Regions from separate parts of the Homo sapiens genome. Here regions 1, 2, 3, 5, 6 and 7 are each linked to region 4. Evidence: promoter capture Hi-C in 16 types of primary human blood cells and fetal thymus (Javierre and others, 2016). All regions are on one chromosome and are shown on one strand. Each heading gives the region's core, a stretch centred on a gene start or on the middle of the fragment in contact. The rest is flanking DNA. Distances are from core to core; before and after follow the strand shown.

Region 1 (2,700 bases), core at 23-2,522, 1.2 Mb before region 4:
TGGCAGCCAAAGGATGTTGGGGCAAACAGTCCCTCATTAATTAATTAATTGAGCAGTTGATTGTCAATTTGTATCTTTTTGTAAGTGTTTAATGTTTGACTTTTTTTCTAATATTCTTTCTTTTCAAAAAAATTCTAACATACAAGAATCTACCTCCCTCCTAGACCTAATTAACTCTGAACATTTTGCTAGCTGGGTGTGGTGGCACATACCTGTAGTCCTAGCTACTCGAGAGGCTGAAGCAGGATTGCTTGAACCCAGGAATTCTGGGCTGTAGTGTGTTATGTCAATTGGGTGTCCACACTAAGTTTGACATCCGTATGGTGACCTCTTGAAAGCAGGCAACAGCAGGTTACCTAAGGAGGGGTAAACCGGCCCAGCTCAGAAACCAAGCAGTTAAAAACTCTCATGCTGATCAGCAGCAGGATAGCATCTGTGAATAGGCACCGCACTCCAGCCTGGGCAATATAGTGAAACCCCAACTCAAAGCAAAATTTTGTCATATTTGTTTCATGTGAAATTTTTTCCCAAAGAAACAAAGCATTGATTCAGTGGAAGCTTCTTTTGTACTCTTCTCCCTCCTTCTTCAAAGGTGCATTGAAGCAGATATTCTTCTAATTTATGTTTTCGTGTTTTATTACATATTTGTGTAAGATGAAGCAATATACGATGTATTTTTGAACTTTATTATGAAAAAATTAAACATAGACAAAATTACAGGGAATAATATATAAACTTTGTTTGGGGATTTTTAGCATCTGGGTAAATGATATCAAATTCCACATATCTTCCTGCAATTTGATTTTATATACCTTATCATGTTTCTGAGGTGGATCTATATTGACACATTAGATTCATTTCATTCATTTTAACTTCTCTGGAGTATTTCATTGTAGGAATGACTATAACTTATTTTTATTTTATTTTATTTTATTTTATTGAGACAGAGTCTCACTCTGTGGCCCAGGCTGGAGTGCAGTGGTGCAATCTTGGCTCACTGCAACCTCTGCCTCCCAGGTTCAAGCAATTCTCCTGCCTCAGCCTCCTGAGTGGCTAGGATTACAGGCATCTGCCACCACGCCTGACTAATTTTTGTGTTTTTAGTAGAGACGGGGTTTCACCATGTTGGCCAGACTGGTCTCGAACTCCTGACCTCAAGTGATCCGCCCACGTAGGCCTCCAAAAGTGCTGGGATTACAGGCGTGAGTCACCGCATCCGGCCCCAGACCCTTTTAACTGAAAATGATAAAAACTCAATTCAACTTAGCTTAATGAAAAAGAAAATGTACTGGCTCATGTCAACTGAAAGTGTAGCTGTGGCTGGATCCAGGCTTCACAGAATCCTCTGGATTCTCTCTCCATTCATCTCTCATCTCCACTTCTCCTTGTGTGTTGGACTAATTCTATGTAGACAGGCTTTCTAAGTGGCAGTGTTAGGGGGCTGGGGATGGGGGAGTGGGAAAGGACCACTGACATTACAAGACCTAATTACTTACAATTTATTGAGAGAGAGAGAGAGAGAGAGAGAGAGAGAGAGAGAGAGAGAGAGAGAGACTGAGTTCTTCCTGGTAAGCCACACTTTTATCCCAGTTTGGAAAATTCTTAGAAAGGATGTCAACTGGAACTGGAACAACCACAGGGATGATGAGTGGTCCAACCCAGCGATGGTACAGTCCAGCACAGGGGAGAACAGGAATACGGGTGTGTGTGTTTGTGGGGGTGGTTAGGTACTGTGGTTGACAGCCCCACCAGAACTACTTGGAATGGGAAAGAGTTTCTCATCAAAATAACATTAGACAAAAGTGAGAGCTGTACACAACAGAAGGACCTCAGAGAAAGCCACTGAGAGGGTGGGTGTAATTTTGGCCCAATCTAGAACCCACTGAGATATAGATGCAAGAACACTGGATTTGGATCTGGAAGTCCATGGTATTGATAGCAACACTGACACAAGCTGTGTTATCTTGCACACATTACCAAGCCACGCTAAGCTTTTTTTCTTCATCTTTAAAATGAAGGTGGTTATATCAATTTTCTAGGGCTATGGTGATGATAAAATGGTATAACCATCTACAAGCTTTTGCTAACTTCAGATTTTGCTGTTCAAGTTGTTCAAAATAGTTAGGGCATTGGCAGCTGACTTCACTTCATTGTACAGAGATCTTGGTTGCACTAAGTTGTAAGGCTTTATTCTTCTGCAATAAATATTTAATCACTTGGGCTAAGAATGGTATTGAACAAAAATACTCTCAAAATATAATGTATACTTGTTATTTCATTTTTGATACATTTCCACCAATGCGTTTTTGTAGTAGCAGTCAATCTTTTTAATAAATATTCATCTTCATTTGAGAGCAAGAGCGGATTCATTGGTTTCCAATATTACATTTTTTGAAAGGGCATATTTTTAAGCACCAGTGATTTTTTAAACCAGTGATTTTTTAAAGTCTCTTTTGAACTCTTGAAACATTGATATTTTCAACTGGAATTAAGGAACATTTCTGACATATTTCAAACCCTTTCTCTGAACAAGGATGCAAACAAATGTATTACATTAAGGAAAAATACAAATGGGAAAATGCTTTTTTGAAAAACAGGTAATGATATTTCAAGGACGACACAGAACTATTCATTTCCGATATTCTCATTACCATTCCTAGCAACAGGCATAGACGTCTCTCAATTCCTGCGCAGTTCTGC
Region 2 (2,700 bases), core at 161-2,660, 1.2 Mb before region 4:
AGAAAAATCTAACGTCCTCTGGCTTTTTACCACTGGTATTGTATTCCTCACATAAAAGCAATCTGGAGACAGCAGTCCAGGGCTGGTGCCCATGCTCCACGATGCCATCAGAGGCAGGGGCTTCTTCCATCTTCCCACCCAGCCATTCTTGGAATGTTGGTCCTCACACATAGCTCCTGGTGGGGGCACCATGGCTGCTCCATCACCAGCACGGGGCCTATGTCTAGTTGGGGAGTCAGGGGAAGGGGAAAGGTTAGAGTGCTTGCAGGTTGAGAATGTCTGCCTCTTCCCAAATAGGTACTTACAAAATTGCACTTTATTTATTTCCTATGCTGCATTTATTGCATTTGATAATGGCAGATATAATGGTTAATTTTATGTGTCAAGCTGACTGGGAGAAGGGATGCCCAGATAGCTGGTAAAACATTATTATTATTATTATTTAAAGGCAGAGTCTCCCTCTGTCACCCAGGCTGGAGTGCTGTGGTGTGATCTCAGCTCACTGCGACCTCCACCTCCTAGGTTCAAACGATTCTCATCCCTCAGCCTCCTAAGTAGCTGGGATAACAGGCATCAGCCATCATGCCCAGCTACTTTTTTTGTATTTTTAGTAGAGATGGGGTTTCACCATGTTGGCCAGGCTGGTCTCAAACTCCTGACCTCAAGTGACCCACCTGCCTCGGCCTCCCAAAGTGCTAGGATTACAGGCGTGAGTGCCTAGCCCCTGACTATTACCATCTTTTAGGGACCTTGTAGCAGCCACTGCTGATGCTCAGCTCAGAAGCCCTCACATTCCTTTACCATTTCCATGCTCTCCTACTTTGGCTGCATTGTTCTTTTGCTATGTCAGTGGGACCTGCAACAGAACTGCTCTCAGGCTCCCAGAGAGGCCCTGCTCTGCTTGTGCAGAGGGCCAGAAATGCCGGAGTGCTTTTTTCTGCTTGGGGTAGCCAGTAGCCAAGGACCTGCTAACCCAGCAGAATGAAAGCCCAGCTCCTTTATTCTGACTCAGGAAAAACCCTTAGATGCAGTTGACTCTCCAGAGCTCCCTGCAGGATCAGGTGGAGTCTGGCCTTTGGTTTGAGATCGCCACTCTGGTGGGCTTCTTCCTCTTGCTTTGCCGTGTTCCCCTACTCTTACTTTGCCCAGTGTTCCCAGGAGACCCTGCCTTCATAAATCATTTTCACAAAAATCTTTATCTCTGAGTCTGCTTCCGGGGACCAGACTATGCCTTTTTAATTCACCCAGTGCCTAGCATAGCACCTGACACATAGTGGGAGTTTGAAAACTTCTTCAAGACTGGTTGAAAAATGCATAATATTAAACCCAATTAAACAAACAGTCCTGTTGGAAAGACACTTTTGAAGCCAGTCAAATTCAGATGATTCAGTAACAATTAGTAACATAGGTTTGATTCTTTTTATTTTTTTATAAGACAGAGTCTCCCCCTGACGCCCAGGCTGGGGTGCAGTGGAGTGATCTTGGCTCATTACAATCTCCATCTCCTGGGTTCAAGCAATTCTCCTACCTCAGTCTCCTGAGTAGCTGGGATTACAGGCGTGCACCACCATGCCTGGCTAATTTTTTAATATTTTTAGTAGAGACAGGGTTTCACCATGTTGGTCAGCCTCGTCTCAAACTCCTGACCTCAATGATCCACCTGTCTTGGCCTCCCAAAGTGCTGGGATTTACAGGCGCGAGCTGCCGTGCCCAGCCTTACATAGGTTTGATTCTATCTAGCAGAACTCAAATTCAAAATAACCTGGTGAAAGTTGAATACTTAAATTTAAGGTCACAGATCACTACAATATGACAGGGACCAGGCATTTTTAGTGTGTACAATTCTTCTATCAGCTTAGGTTCCTGCTCAGAAATCTGAAAGTCTCGCCCCACTACATGCCACAAACCGTTTTTTTTCCTTTTTTTCTTTTCTTTTCTTTTTTTTTTTTTTGGAGACGCAGTTTCACTCTTGTTGCCCAGGCTAGAGTGCATTGGCATAATCTCGGCTCACTGCAACCTCCATCTCCCAGTTTCAAGCAATTCTCCTGCCTCAGCCTCCCGAGTAGCTGGGATTACAGGTGTGCAGCACCACACCTGGCTGATTTTTGTATTTTTTGTAGAGATGAGGTTTTGCCATGTTGGCCAGGCTGGTCTCGAACTCCTTACCTCAGGTGATTCACCTGCCTTGGCCTCCCAAAGTGCTGGGATTATGGGTGTGAGCCACCAAGCCCAGCCAAACCCTTATTTTTTTTAAGGAGGTTGTGCACACTGGTTCCCCAGAAGCAAAGCATCAGGTAATGTTAACTTCGGTTATTGCAAATGATGGCTGGAGGTCTGGGGAGAGGGATTGATCATACTGGGCACCTGCATCTCCTGTGCAAATCTCTCCTGGGGCCTCAATGCTTACGCAGTTTGCTCCATACACCCTTGGTTTGAGTGGACCCTCCCCTGGCTCACAGGCTGCCTTTCATTGTTCTGGGTGCTCTCAAGCAGTGATGCCACTGTGGGGCATGGTGCCTGACCCCTAGAGCAATGCCTCCTCCAGGCCCCAGAGAGCTCTCCCCTGAAAAGTCAAGGCTTGAAAGAAGGAAGCCTGCCATTGGCTGAGAACTGGAATTATTACAACCCCCAATGCTGGAGGTGGGACTTGCGGGAGGTGATTGGATCATGAGGGCGGGTTTCTCATGAATGGTTTAGTAC
Region 3 (2,700 bases), core at 94-2,593, 1.1 Mb before region 4:
TGCTGCCTAAACGCTACCCTTTCCTTGTCCCTCTTTATTCTTGAGATCTTAGACATAGGTTTTAAGGGGCGATCTGAGCTTTTGGTCAAGTTAGATTCCTCTGAGCCCTGAGATTTCTTCCACTCCTCTGACATTCCCGTAGAACCCTGCTCCTTGTCTTCAGGGTGACTTTCTTTAGTTGGTAATTATACATTTGTATCCAGGGTGTGGTGGATGAAATATTAGCATAAACTCTTTGTAGCTCTTACCATTAAATTTATTTCCCCATTCCTTGAATGACTGGGGCTGGCCTTGTAACATGCTCTGACCCATGGAATATGGAGGCCCTACCCCTCCTGGCATGCTGCCCTGTGACCTCCATGCTGGTCAGCCCAGCAGCAGTGGAGAAAAGGACAGAGAAGAACTGAGATCATGCTGAGGTGTCTCACGTGAAAAATCAGCTCATGAAGGGAGAAATAGCCTTGGGAGCCAGACCATCCTTGTGAGGGGAGGCTTCCAGTTTATTTTGTTCCCATTCATTACATCAGCACCTGATCCAGATTTTAGATTTTTCTCATGCCAGCTCTGTGTATGGTGAGATGTACGGGAAGTTTAAATAGCTCCACACAGTGTAGTATTTTGTATGTGTTAGCTCGAGCTGCATGCTAGGGGCAGACTGCTACCCAGATGAGAAATTTATACACCAGGGCAATCAGCTTGGTTTTAATCAGAAAGGATTTCAGAAACATTGATTCTAAAAGCATTGCTAATCCTTGCGTGAAATCCAGAGTCTTTGGTCATTCACAAAATGAACATTAGAAATATGTTCTGTTAAAATTAGAGGTTTTAAATTAACATATTAGATGCTGTAAGTGGATTCTCCTTGGGCAATTTAGTGGTAGTCAGGATACATGGCTTGGCCAGAGCATTGTGGGGCCAGTCCTCTGCCCTTGTAAGAGGGTAGAAAGTCCAGGGAGGCCTGCAGTGGGTACTCTCAGGGATGACACTGGAGACTTTGTCTCCTGGTCTCCTGCTGCTGCCTCGAGGCTAGTGTCATGCCTGCTGCATGTGAACCTTTTTAGGAAAGGTGAGGTTAAAAGGGCAAAGACCTGGGACTTCATCCAGCTTGCAAAAACATTTTCTATAAGCCATTTTATGCCTTGTATTTAATAAGTACGTTTAAATAATATATCTGTAATATATGGGCCACAACTTGGAGACTTGCTTACATTATAACTTGGCCTTCACTTGCAAAAAGTGAAGACGTTGATTGATCTACTTTTTTTAAAGCTTTTTCCAGATCATGGCACATGGAAGGAAAACTGAAACAGAGAATGGCAGTGTTACTGAAGAGATGTGATGAGACTGGAGTTAGGTCTGATAACATGGCTGGAATTTACAGGGCAGAGTTCTAGAGAAGTAGCAGTCATACAGAGAAGAAGCTTCTGAAATCTGCTCAGAAAAAAAAAAAAAAAAAGAAGCTTCAGGAATCCTAGACTCTTTGGGTACCAAGTGACAAGTATGCAGCACACGAATCCAGGTGGCTAGGAAAAGAACAAAGCTATGAGCTGAATTGAGATTTGGAGCTTGTATGGAACTGAGTTTTTTTGTTGCTGTTGTTTTTGTTTTTTTATTTTGACAGGGTCTCACTCTTTTGCCCAGGCTAGAATGCAGTAGTGTGATCTCAGCTCACTGCAGCCTTGACCTCCTGGGCTCAAGTGATCATCCCACCTCAGCCTACCGAGTAGCTGGGACTACAGATACGCGCCACTACACCCAGCAAATTTTTGTACTTTTTGAAGAGACAGGGTTTTGCCATATTTTTAGGCTGGTCTCAAACTCGTGGGCTCAAGCAATCTGCCTGACTCAGCCTTCCAAGAGATATTGGCTTAAGTGTATATGGCGTATACAATCTCATATGGAACAGAAGTGTATTGTTGTAAGTGTAAATGAATAGGCTGCTTTGAAAATTCTGGGTACTCAGTTGACCCTCAAGAAAGGCCATGTGTTAGGAGAAGGTTACTATTGTCTTGGAGTTAAAGATATATTAGCCCCTCCCTAACAAACATTAAAAACAAACCTCAAAGGATCAAGCTGATCCATAAGGAAATTAACTGTCTGCCAGACAAAATCTGATATTTAAAGGAAGACGACAAAATCCAGACACTGAACAATGCATCATCCAAAATGCCCAGAACACAATAAAATATGCACAGACACCTGAAGAAGCAGGAAAATGTGAAGGACAGAAAATCAGTCAATAATTGAAACAAATCAGAAGAAACAAGAAGAAGGAAATAGAAGAAAAGGCTTTTAAACAGCTACTATATACACAGTCAAAGATGTTAAAGGAAAACAAAAATGTTATGAGGAAATAGATGGCAAATCTCAATAGAGAAATGGAAACTATAAAAAAGAACCAAATTATAAAAACTGAAAAATACAAGATTTGACATAAAAATTCACTGGATGGGATTAATAGAGACACTACAGAAGAAAATATTAGTGAACTCAAAGACAGGGCAATAGTTAACTAATCAAACTGAAGCATGCAGAGAATAAAAGATGAAAAAAAAAAACTGAATAGAGTTTCAGTGACCTATGGGATCACATCAAGTGATCTAACCTACTTTTCAGAGTCCTTGAAGGAGAGAAGAGTGAGAGAAGGACAGACAAAAATATTTAGGAGGCTGAGGCAGGTAAATCACCGGAGGTCAGGAG
Region 4 (2,700 bases), core at 187-2,686:
TACAGGTGTGAGCCACCGTGCCCGGGCAGTACCTTTTCTTTTAAAAGCTCACAGATGAGTATAAAAATGTCCACGCACTGGCTGGGAGCCAGATGATTTGGGTTCTGGGTTCTAGTTCTGTCTCCCCAGACTTGCTGTCTGTGACACAGCTTTCCCATTTGTAAAATGTCAGGGCTGCAGAGGACTTCTGAGGTTTCCGCCCTCTCCTACCTCCTGGGAGATTATGTCATGTAATAATGCTAACAGTGGTAATAAAAACCCAGCCACGTTGAGTGTTCCAGGTTTCACGCACTGTGCCAAATGTTTCACATTTGCCATTTCACTCAATCCTCGTGGCCGTTTTACAACCCTCATTTTATAAATAAGAACCCTGAAGCTGCCTGAGTTTAGGTAACTACTTCAGGGCCACACAAGGAGTAAGTAGTTGAGTTGGGATTTGAATATTGATTCCAAACCTTGAGCTCTTAATGACTTTGCTGTATACATTACTTCTTGCCACAGGTGGGCCAGTGACGAACGAACGTTGGGTTAAGCAGGGAGGTATTCTTGTTAGGATTATTAGCAATGCTTAGTGTATGTATGTATTGTTAATTTTATTATTATTTTTTTGAAACAGTCTCGCTTTGTCGCCTAGGCTGGAGGCAGTGGCGCGATATCGGCTCACTGCAACCTCCGCCTCCTGGATTCAAGCGATTCTCGTGCCTCAGCCTCCCGAGTAACTGGGATTACAGGCACGAGCGACCACGCCCGACTACATTTTGTATTTTTAGTAGAGACGGGGTTTCGCCATGTTGGCCAGGTTGGTCTTCAACTCCTGACTTCAGGTGCTCCGCCCGCCCCAGCCTCCCAAAGTGCTGGGATTACAGGCTTGAGTCACCGCGCCCGGCCTGTATTTATTTTTATATAGAGAAGGGCGAGGGAGCGGGGTCATTTTGTTACCCAGACTGGTCTCGAACTCCTGGGCTCAAGCGATCCTCTCGCCTCGGCCTCCCTCCCAAAGTGTTGGGATCACCGGCCTGAGCCCCCTGCCCGGCCTCGCTCTACGTTTTTTAGGCGCATTCTGAACGTGAAGTGTATACACTGAATTCTCACAGCAACTGCATAGGGCATCAGTACCAGTGCCCTTACTGTACAGATGGGGAAAATGAGGCTCAGACAGGCGAAGTAAGTAGCTTAAGTTCACACAGAGAGGAAATGGCAGGGATTCAAAGCCTAGGAGTCCGCCTGCAACCCTCTCGCCTGACCGTCCAGTCTTCAGCTCCGCGGAGCCTGGGCCTGGGGCTGGGGCTGGGGCTGAGGCTCTGGAAGCCGCCGGGACGCAGACGCCACTGGGCCCCAGCGTCACACCTCGGCCGCGCACGCGCTCTCGGGTTCCGGGCCGGAGCGCGCGGCGGGAGCGAGGACGGCGGCAGGGAGCGTGCGCGCGGTGACGTACCGGGCGCCATGTTGGAGGGTTGGTGGTAGCGGCTTGGGGAGGTGCTCGCTCTGTCGGTCTTGCTCTCTCGCACGCTTCCCCCGGCTCCCTTCGTTTCCCCCCCCCGGTCGCCTGCGTGCCGGAGTGTGTGCGAGGGAGGGGGAGGGCGTCGGGGGGGTGGGGGGAGGCGTTCCGGTCCCCAAGAGACCCGCGGAGGGAGGCGGAGGCTGTGAGGGACTCCGGGAAGCCATGGACGTCGAGAGGCTCCAGGAGGCGCTGAAAGGTGGGGGTAGCTGCCCCCTCTCCATTCCCCCTCACCTTCTCCGGCTCGCTCTTCTCTCCTTTCAGGGCGGATGGTTCCGAGGACCGGGGCCGGGCGCGGCGTGGGGAGAGTGCTTCCCGGGCTCCCATCCCCCTCCACCTCCCCAGGGGCGGGGAGCCCTGTGGGCAGCTCTCTCCCGCCCCGCTCTGGCTTTGTGTCGGCCGCCGGCGTCTGGGCTGGGGGAGGGGAGCCGGGGAAACTCTTGCGGGGGCCCCAGTCTTTCTCCCACCCGTTCAGGGGACGAGTGGCGGACCCGCAGACCCCTCCCTCCCAGATATCCTCTTTTCTCCACCAGGCTACCCGTACGCTAGGCGTTGGGGTGGGAGAAAAAGTAAACGGTTGGTGGGGGCGGGGGTAGGGGGTAGCATCGCAACTTTTAAGTTGTCTCAGTATGCCTTTTTCAGGGCTTTTGAAGTCATCTTTCCGCGCCCTAATTTCGAGGTGGTTGCCTTCACTGTTCTTGATTGCACGCCTTCCACGCAACAGGCTTGAGAACAGTGGCTTACAAACTTCGAGTAGAGAGATTTCAGCGTTTTGAGAATTATTCTTTGACATTCAGAATCATTTGGGGACGGCAACTTGGGGTAGTTGGTGCTTCTTAGAAAGGCAGATTTATGGACTTAGATGAACAATTGGTGGGAGTCGGGGCCTGGGGATTTTTATTTTCACTGGATTCCCAGCTTAATATAATGCTGGTGTTCCCCCGGACCACACTTCGAGAAGCACTGCGTTAAAAATGGTTTGTGAAGTTGAGTGCCCCCTTTAGGAGGATTCTTGTTATCTGTAAAGAGGGTGACATGTTGGAAGTAGAACTTGGAGGATTGAGGTGGTAATTTGGTTGAGAGGCCTTATTTTTTTAATTTTGTATTTAATTGATTTTTAATAAGGTAAAGGACTAGGAGGAAAGTTTGTTTTTAGAGCGCTTTTGAGAAAACTGATAACGTTTTTTTTTCTTCCTTCATCT
Region 5 (2,700 bases), core at 95-2,594, 1.1 Mb before region 4:
CAGCACAGAGGAAAGAACTAGGCACTGGTATCTCAGAGATTGGGAATGGAATCCCCATTCTGTTTCTCACTAGCTGTATGGTCTTGAGCAAGAAGCTTTCACATTCAGATCTTCAGCTGCCTCATCTAATATCCAATAGTGATAGTGAAGAATAAAGGAGACAATATATGGAGATTATTTAGCACATGCCTGGCACACAGTGGGTATCTTAGAAAGAGTAGCTTTTGTGTCTTCAACTCAGCTTTTAGAGAGCATTCATGTTTTACTGATCCATTTCCTACTGCCCTCCTCGGTAGCCATGAACCTAGCATGTGCCTTAATATGTGTTCAGTAAATATTTGCTGAATGATGAATACGCGAATAAATGAATGAATATGAAAACTGTCTATGATGTCTAGAGGGACATTTGAGCAATCTCATTTTTTAGTCGTGGAGAGCAATATCTGCTATTTGGCAGATAGCATTATCAGGAATCATCAGAAAGCATGCAGAGTTGTGAAATGTCAATGCACCCATCCTTTGAAGAGTCGGCACTTCTGCCAAAGCTGCACAGAGCAGAAAGCTAGCTGGAAATGAACAGTGGCCTTCTCCATCACGCTTCAGCCCCAGGAGAGCAATGGGGGTTGCCTTGGGAGCAAGTACCCCATCACTGAATGACTAGACAGCTAGCAGCACCCAGGAGGGCCCATGGGCTGCTGGGCATTGGGTTGAGAGCTGGGAAACAGAGCTGAAAGACAAAACTCCTGCTTTTGAAAGTTCACAGCTGCTGAAGAAGACAGCTAAAGAGAATCCAGGTTGTGGGGTGAGCAGGGTGGATACAGGATGTGATTTGAGAGGTGGCAAGACCCCCTTGCCTAACAGTCTCTCCTTATCTGGTACCAGGCCTGGAATCCCCCATTCTGCAGACTCTGGGGCTAGATCAAGCTGTGTCTAAATTCTTCTCTGTATCCATCCTTGGCCCCTTACAGCCCAAGTTCCTTGATCCTTTGGTGACAATGGTCACTTTTCACATAACTTTCAGTTTCAGTCTGAACAAAAGGCAAGATTCACTCAAGCCAACACCTGTCATTCACCAGTCATTCTTCCTTTAGTTATTGAAATTGTCGCTGAGGATCTTTTATATGCTGGACACTGAGAAGAGGCTGGAGTCACAGGGGACACAGGCTACACATTTATGGGGCCCAGCCTGGCAGGAAAGACAGACAATTGAACAAAGCGACTATAGAAGAGTGTGCTGACAGCTATCAGAAGGGAAGAACAGCGGGCCCAGGGAAGTACACAGCAGTGGGGAACCAACGTTGATTTAAGGGTAGATCTGAGTGAGACCCAAAGGCTAAATAAGGGTGTTTAGGCAAGATGGAGTCCTCATGTCATAATGGCTAGAAGGGTGCAGTCTAGGGTCTGATGGCCAAGGTTCACATCCTGGGCAAGTCAATGTACCCACCTCAGCCTCAATTTCCACATTTAAAAAATGAAAATAATAATAATTCTGACCTCATAGGTTATTGTCCTCATGGATAAAGATTAAAATATATAATATTAAAATATATCTATATTATGACACAACTATAAATGTATTTATATATAATGTTTATTGTCAGAGTATCTGACACATAAGGAGAATTTATAAGGAAAATAATTATTAAGGATGGGCGTAGGAAAAAGTTCTCACTATTGAAAGGATAGCAAGCGTCCCCAGATATAAGAAAGAGAACAAAAAATGAGGCTGAGGAATTTGTGAAGAAGTTTGTTATGGCTAGATTCTGCATGAGAAGTAGGGAGTGTCTAAAACTTGGTTTGGAAAAGCAGGCACCAGAGAGGATCACCTATGCTGCTAGTCTAGTCCTGAAGTGGGGCTTCATTTTTGATGTCTAGACATCTGGCTCATTCAAAACCGTCCAATCCTACAACTGGCCCCAAAGACAGACATCCCCCTCAGTCACTGTTCACTGGTTTTGACTGCAGTGATCTCTTAGTACCCAATTCTGTCTCAGGTCTGTTGTGTCTTAGTCCGAAGTCATCCAGTTGCAAATGGCAGAAATTGACTCATTAAAAAAAATAATAATTTTTAAAAGGGCTCACGTAACCAAGAGATCTATGCACAGTCATGACTGGATCTGGTATTCAAACAAGATTGTAAGCAATCTTTTTCCCTTCTCATGGTTCTGCTTTTCTTTATGCTGGCTTCATTCTTTTTTTTTTTTTTTTTTTAAATGGTGTCTTTCTCTGTCGCCCAGGCTGGAGTGCAATGGCACAAACTCAGCTCATGGCAACCTCTGCCTCCCGGTTTCAAGTGATTCTCCTGCCTCAGCCTCCTGAGTAGCTGGGATTACAGGCACCTGCCATCATCCCTGGCTAGTTTTTGTATTTTTGTAGAGATGGGGCTTCACCATGTTGGCCAGGCTGGTCTTGAACTCCTGACCTCAGGTGATCCGCCCGCCTCAGCCTCCCAAAGTGCTGGGATTACAGGCGTGAGCCACTGCTCCTGGCCTTAAGTTGGCTTCATTCTAAGCCATGTTTTTCTCTATGGTAGTAAGTTGGCCATTAGTGACTTTAGGTTTATATTCTGGAAGCCCAGCTACCCCAGCAGAAAGAAGCTTCCTTTCTGCTCTTCCCAATAGTCACAGCAAAAGTTCCAGGGTTCACTCTTCTAGAAATGACTTGGGCCACATTCTCATTACTGAAGGAATCACTATAGCC
Region 6 (2,700 bases), core at 100-2,599, 1.2 Mb before region 4:
TTTTGAAAAAATCTCTTTTCTAATAAATATCACAGAGCTTACAGTTAAATATCTGTTGGATATATACAAATGCTGTCATAGCAAAAGGACTTTCAAAATTCTATAAACCTAATAACTAATATAGAGAAAATAGAGCTTGATTTTTTCAAGACAAAGATACTTCCTTTAAAGTCAAATGATATTATCTATGTATCAACATTTCAAACATAGACGTTTTATTTAAATCCCATTATGTGCACTTAAATATTTGAAGTAATTTAATGAAGGTGTGAAATAATTCCTCACTTAAAAAACAGTAAAGAAGTTGAACAACCAGGAAATGATAGCAGTTTTGCCTTGTTAATGTAAACTAGACTATTTAGTATTGTACTGCAAACCCAATTTTTTCAGATCCACACAAAATTGTTGAGAGTGGGAGAGAACTGAACTAGTTCCTACTTACAGAAAAGATGAAAACATCGTCTCTAAGTTTAAACATCTACACAGCAACCTACTCCATCATTATGCTGGAGCACTGGAGGTGCTTTGCCAGGAATTAGAAATTTAAAACTTTTATGGGGATACCTCAAGACCCTGAGCGCGGGGGAAAGCCCCGGAACCCAGAAGGAAGCTCCCACAATTGCTTTTCAAAGCGCTCACATGGCCCTGGACCAAGCGATTTCAAAGGGTTTCTGCGGAGGACGCATCGGGGAGCAAACTCTTTGACTGTAGGATTAAGACTCTGGGCACTTGGGGAATTCGTCTTGGTCCTTTGCATTTCAGGAAGGGGCCGTCAAATTTTAAGGTTCGAGGTTGGAGAGCCTCCAAAAGTACTTGAGAAGACTCAGAGAGAAACTTCTTTCAGCCTAACAGAAGAAAAATGCGAGGAGTGAGGCCGTGGGTGATGAGGGAGAAGTAAGCGGGAGAAGGTGGTAATAAAGGTGGTGGGCGACATCCTTGTCACTGTTTCTTCCAGGACGCGCCCAGTGTCCCCAGCCGTCTGCTGCTTTTGGATCTGGGTATTTTCCCAAGTGCACCAAGGGGCGACAGGGGCAGGTGTCCCCGCCCAGGGCGACCCTCCCTTTGCCTCTAGCCTGCCCTTCAGGGTCCCCGTCCCAAGCCCCCTGGGCACATCCCAGGCGCGCATCAGGGGCAGACAGGTGCGCCCGGGCCGCTTACCCCGGTGATCACGGCGGCGTCCCCAGCGCGGGGCGTGAGCAGCAGCGGCGGCAGCAGCAAGAGGAGCAGGAGTGGGGCGCAGCACAGGCTCCTCATGGCGCCCTCGGGACTGGGCGGCCGCCGGAGGCAGTTGGGGGCGCGGGGCCCGGGTGCGCTGGGTGGAGCGCGGAGCGGCGGGCGGACGGGCGCGGCGGCTCCCGCGAGCCTCCGGGCCGTTATAAAGGCTAGCCCCGCCGTGACTCACGCCGGCGCCCGCCCGGCAGCACACGCGGGGGGCACGGCGCGGGCACACACCCCACGCCCCACGCGCACACGCGCGCCCGCCTCGGCCCGGCCGGCTCCCAGACGAGCACGTGCTATGCGCGGCCCCCCGCGCCCCCGCCTCGGGCGCCACGCAGGCAGCGCTCCCGGCGGGGCGCCCCGCTCTGCGCCGTTCCCTCCGCCGTCGCCCAGCCACCGCCTTTCGCACGCGCCGGAACCGCTTTTGTGGTCTCCGAGACACTCATTTGCTGTCCTGGTTTCCAAAGCTCCACGTGCTCAGCGCCGAAAACTTGCAAATCATTTGCTGTACAGATGTTTAGGGGTCGCCTACTACGTGCGGGGCGCTGTGGACACATAGGGGGCGGGGGGTGGGTGAGGGGGACACAGCAGCCCCTGAATCCATTCGTTTGTTCAGCAGGTCTATACTGGGCGCCCGCTGCGTGCCAGGTACTGCCACCGGCTCTCTCCTCACGGTGGAATAACTTAACAGAGAAGACAGACATCAATCAAATACCCTGGAAACGTGGAAGGCAGGGGAAAGAACAAAGGGAGAGCAAAATCGCCCCAATCCCACATCACCCGCGACGTGAAAGGATTTGTCCTTCCAGCTGCGGGACTCCTATTTGTTTATTTCAAGTCAGAGGCCTTCCCTTTATGCCCACATCTGTTCCCGACCCTCTCCTCTGATTTTCCTCACATGTATTTCCTCCCCTCTTCAGCCCCGCGCCAGCTCCAGGCACAGCCGTTCAGGGTGATGCCAAAGGGAAATGAGAACGCCTGGTTTCGAGTGCCAGCCTGAGGCCCCTTAAGCCCTAGGTACGCAGCTCTCTCTTCTTTCTTAAACTTTCCAGCCCAGGAAAATCACCCTTCGGTTTTACAGATGCGATAGGGCGTTATTGTGATTCCTTCATTCACGTAAACATGAATTGAGTGTCTAGTGGGTTCCAGGCACACCAGGAAAGAATAAGTGACAGATTTGCCCTCCATCTCTCATCCTAGCCTGGCTCCAAAAACTGCAGCCTGTTTCCCTCAACAAAAATGACGTCAAGAATACCTAGATGTGACCACACCGAACTTGCTTGCCCGTTTTGGGAAACCCAACTTTCTTCCTGAATAGTCAGAACCTCTGGCTTTCCTGGTCTCTTAAGAACCGCAAACTATTGAAAAGCAGATGCGTCTTTCAGCCTCTTTAATAAATGCAGTAAGGAGAGTTGGGACAGAGTTACTTTCAGACTGTGGGGCTCCCCCGTGCCAAAGCATTCAGACGAAATGTGGGGGATA
Region 7 (2,700 bases), core at 32-2,531, 1.3 Mb before region 4:
CAAACTATCAAGTATGAAGAAGGTAAAGTAAGAGCATTTCCAGATACGTAAAAAATCTTAAAATATTCACCTCCGGCTGGGCACGGTGGCTCATGCCTGTAATCCCAGCACTTTGGGAGGCCGAGGTGGGTGGATCACAAGGTCAGGAGTTTGAGACCAGCCTGATCAACATGGTGAAACCCCGTCTCTATGAAAAGTACAAAAATTAGCTGGGCATGGTGGCACGTGCCTGTAGTCCCAGCTACTCAGGTGGCTGAGGCAGAAGAATCACTTGAACCTGAGAGGCAGAGGTTGCAGTGAGCCGAGACTGTGCCACTGCACTCCAGGCTGGGTGACAGAGCGAGACTCCGTCTCAAAAAAATATATATATTTACGTCCAAAGCAGCTTTCTCAGGAAGCTACTGATATATGTATACCACTTGAAAATGAAACAAAAGAATAAAACAAGAAAGAGAAAGATGTGGGTTCATTCCAGGAAACAGGAAGTCTCACAGGGAGAGAAGAGAACAGCATGCTTTGGAAGGCAGTGCCAGGGCCACAGCTGTGCAGGGAGCTGTCCAGACCAGATGAAGTAAGAGAATGAAGGAAGGGTGGTAGCAGGGGTTTCTCTGAGAAATGCAGCTGTTTATCCAAAATGTTTGACATATGGAAATCAGACCACTGCAAGTTCACATGGGAGTCTAAGGAGAATCGAACCCAAGTCATACTTTTTATGTGATTTATCATAAAAATCTGTCTGCCTTATCTCTAAGATTTATTTTTACAGATGCTCTCCTTAACAACTGTTACAATTCTGCAAATGAAAGGGTCTCTACCTCATCTAAATAAAAACCCAATGCAAAGCTTGGTGCTGGTGGCATAGGAAAAATTTATATGTGTGTGGGAGGTGTATGTATATAGAGGGTGGGCATTTAAAAGAGCCAAACTTTCATATTTTATTACAAGGAACTCGTTGCATAATAGGTAAACTAGCAATTCAAGAAACAGTAGGTACATCCTTAAAGATGTGTCTTACAGGAACTTAAAGATGTGTCTTATGGAACTATGAACCTGTTCCATAGTTCAGAACATTTTATATGGATGTACCCCCCAAATCGCCACCATATAAAGTATATTCACTGTAATTCTCTAGAGTAGAAAGTATCAATAATCGATGCACTATTTGATTTTCGACCAAATAAGAGAGAAAGGAGATGAAGGCAAGGATTACAGCAGTAGCAGCTTTGATATGCAATATTTATACCATTATTCCATGCACATGAAGAGATGCTTAAGGAATAGGTTTGATCTTGTAATCTTCGGCACTCCCAGTAGCACTGTAGTCCTGGTGGTTGCATTGAGTCTGTCAATGCAAAATTTAGGATCACAACATGACTTAACCACTAGAGAGAGTTTAAACAGCTAGTAAATATAATGCAAAAGAAAGGGGCCACATTTTTTAAGAAGGCCTTTTTTTCTCACTTGGAGCCGTTGCTATAACTTGCTTAGAAAACCATTATAGAAATATCAATAATGGCATTGTAAATAGTGATAACATGTTAGTGTAGACTCCTTGTTTGTTTCTTTTCGATATTGAAAGTGTTTATTTTCAGGTGGTTAAAATACTGCCACCTATGCCGTTAGCATAATGGTTTTTCGCAATTCTGTACTAGCAGATACAATCCCAGTTTAATACTTCTATCATCCCAATAGATTTTCTTTCAATTATATATTAGTCGACAAAGCTTTCTGTACATATTTGTCAAGAATTCAGGCTTTTGGTCCAGACAGACTGGAATTTTACCTTGCTCTTCTACTTTGTGCTGTGTGACCACAGACTATGGTTAATTGCTTTAAAACTCAAGGCTCCTCATCTGTCAAACTGGGGTAGGAGATTTTGTAGGAGTAAATTATTAATCATATATGCAAAACAGCTTAGTGCATTTTTGGATCTAAAAAATGATAGCTTTTCTAGTGGCTGTGCTGTAATATAAAGCTATTGGTTAAATAAAACTTTCTTAATCTCTCTTCCCAGGTTTACCTAAACATCAAAGCCCCAAAGCACGTAAACGTTAAGGCCCACCAAAGGGGGCAATCCTTATGCACATGATCATATGGCAAGGCATGACTTATTTCTGTGGCCAGCCTCAGGTAAGAGTACAAGAAATCACACCTTAAGAATCTGCACTCACTCAGAAAGCCATAACTAGGAGTTCATGTTACTTGCCAGGCTCCTATCCACCTTTTAATAAAGACACCTCCATAGGCCACAGAGGTGACCTCACTTTCATATGAATTTTTTTGATAATTCTGTTTTCTTATGATATCCACAGAGTTGTGGAACTATCACTATTACCTAATTTTAGAACATTTTCATCACCCCCCAAAAAGCTCTGGACCCATTAGTGGTCACTCTCCAATCCTTTCCCCCAGCTCCCAGCAACTACTAACCAACTTTCTATCACTATGGATTTACCTGTTCTGGGCATTTCATGTAAGTGGATTTGTACAATATGTGGTCTTTCGTGTTTGACTTCTTTCATTGAGCACAGTATTTTCAAGGTTCATCCACGCTGGAGCATCACATACCAGTACTTGTTATTATGAGTGAATAGTATTCCACTGTAGGGATATATGACATTTTATTTATCCATCCATTCATTCATTGACCTTTGTGTTGCTTTATCCTTTTGGTTATTAGGAATGACGATGTTATGAACA

What was found. The method cuts DNA at HindIII sites, captures the fragments that hold promoters and counts their contacts. A CHiCAGO score of 5 or more calls a contact.
Region 1: a contact is called between a fragment that was not itself captured here and the fragment with the promoter of PPP4R2 in region 4, in 1 of 17 cell types (M2 macrophages). The highest score is 5.3, in M2 macrophages.
Region 2: a contact is called between a fragment that was not itself captured here and the fragment with the promoter of PPP4R2 in region 4, in 1 of 17 cell types (neutrophils). The highest score is 5.8, in neutrophils.
Region 3: a fragment that was not itself captured here is called in contact with the fragment with the promoter of PPP4R2 in region 4 in 3 of 17 cell types (fetal thymus, total B cells and naive CD8 T cells); the score reaches 9.5 in fetal thymus.
Region 5: a contact is called between a fragment that was not itself captured here and the fragment with the promoter of PPP4R2 in region 4, in 1 of 17 cell types (neutrophils). The highest score is 6.3, in neutrophils.
Region 6: a contact is called between the fragment with the promoter of PROK2 here and the fragment with the promoter of PPP4R2 in region 4, in 10 of 17 cell types (erythroblasts, naive B cells, neutrophils and 7 more). The highest score is 10.2, in erythroblasts.
Region 7: a fragment that was not itself captured here is called in contact with the fragment with the promoter of PPP4R2 in region 4 in 3 of 17 cell types (naive B cells, total B cells and naive CD4 T cells); the score reaches 8.8 in naive B cells.

Annotation. Positions count from the first base shown.
Region 1 is chr3:71,826,986-71,829,685 of GRCh38, forward strand. It overlaps the pseudogene RN7SL271P. Among named protein-coding and RNA genes, the nearest start is that of PROK2, 43 kb to the left of the region's middle. The HindIII fragment of the contact is 1,433 bases long and covers 557-1,989 here.
Region 2 is chr3:71,802,585-71,805,284 of GRCh38, forward strand. No RefSeq gene overlaps it. Among named protein-coding and RNA genes, the nearest start is that of PROK2, 19 kb to the left of the region's middle. The HindIII fragment of the contact is 9,218 bases long and covers 1-2,700 here.
Region 3 is chr3:71,880,938-71,883,637 of GRCh38, forward strand. No RefSeq gene overlaps it. Among named protein-coding and RNA genes, the nearest start is that of PROK2, 97 kb to the left of the region's middle. The HindIII fragment of the contact is 152 bases long and covers 1,268-1,419 here.
Region 4 is chr3:72,995,375-72,998,074 of GRCh38, forward strand. It overlaps PPP4R2 (protein phosphatase 4 regulatory subunit 2), which reads left to right and starts at 1,437. Exons shown (of 9, transcript NM_174907.4): 1 at 1,437-1,697. The coding sequence starts at 1,664. It overlaps LOC124909395 (a long non-coding RNA gene), which reads right to left and starts at 1,817. Exons shown (of 2, transcript XR_007095961.1): 1 at 1,733-1,817. RefSeq lists enhancers at 1,062-1,111, 2,372-2,421 and a silencer at 1,292-1,921. The HindIII fragment of the contact is 5,282 bases long and covers 1-2,700 here.
Region 5 is chr3:71,853,756-71,856,455 of GRCh38, forward strand. No RefSeq gene overlaps it. Among named protein-coding and RNA genes, the nearest start is that of PROK2, 70 kb to the left of the region's middle. The HindIII fragment of the contact is 2,502 bases long and covers 94-2,595 here.
Region 6 is chr3:71,783,799-71,786,498 of GRCh38, forward strand. PROK2 (prokineticin 2) reads right to left here and starts at 1,350. Exons shown (of 4, transcript NM_001126128.2): 1 at 1,159-1,350. The coding sequence starts at 1,254. LOC105377156 (a long non-coding RNA gene) reads left to right here and starts at 1,592. Exons shown (of 4, transcript NR_199161.1): 1 at 1,592-1,725; 2 at 1,838-1,949; 3 at 2,139-2,235; 4 at 2,419-2,629. The HindIII fragment of the contact is 4,477 bases long and covers 1-2,700 here.
Region 7 is chr3:71,744,391-71,747,090 of GRCh38, forward strand. It overlaps a transcript of EIF4E3 not described here. Among named protein-coding and RNA genes, the nearest start is that of GPR27, 8.1 kb to the right of the region's middle. The HindIII fragment of the contact is 881 bases long and covers 842-1,722 here.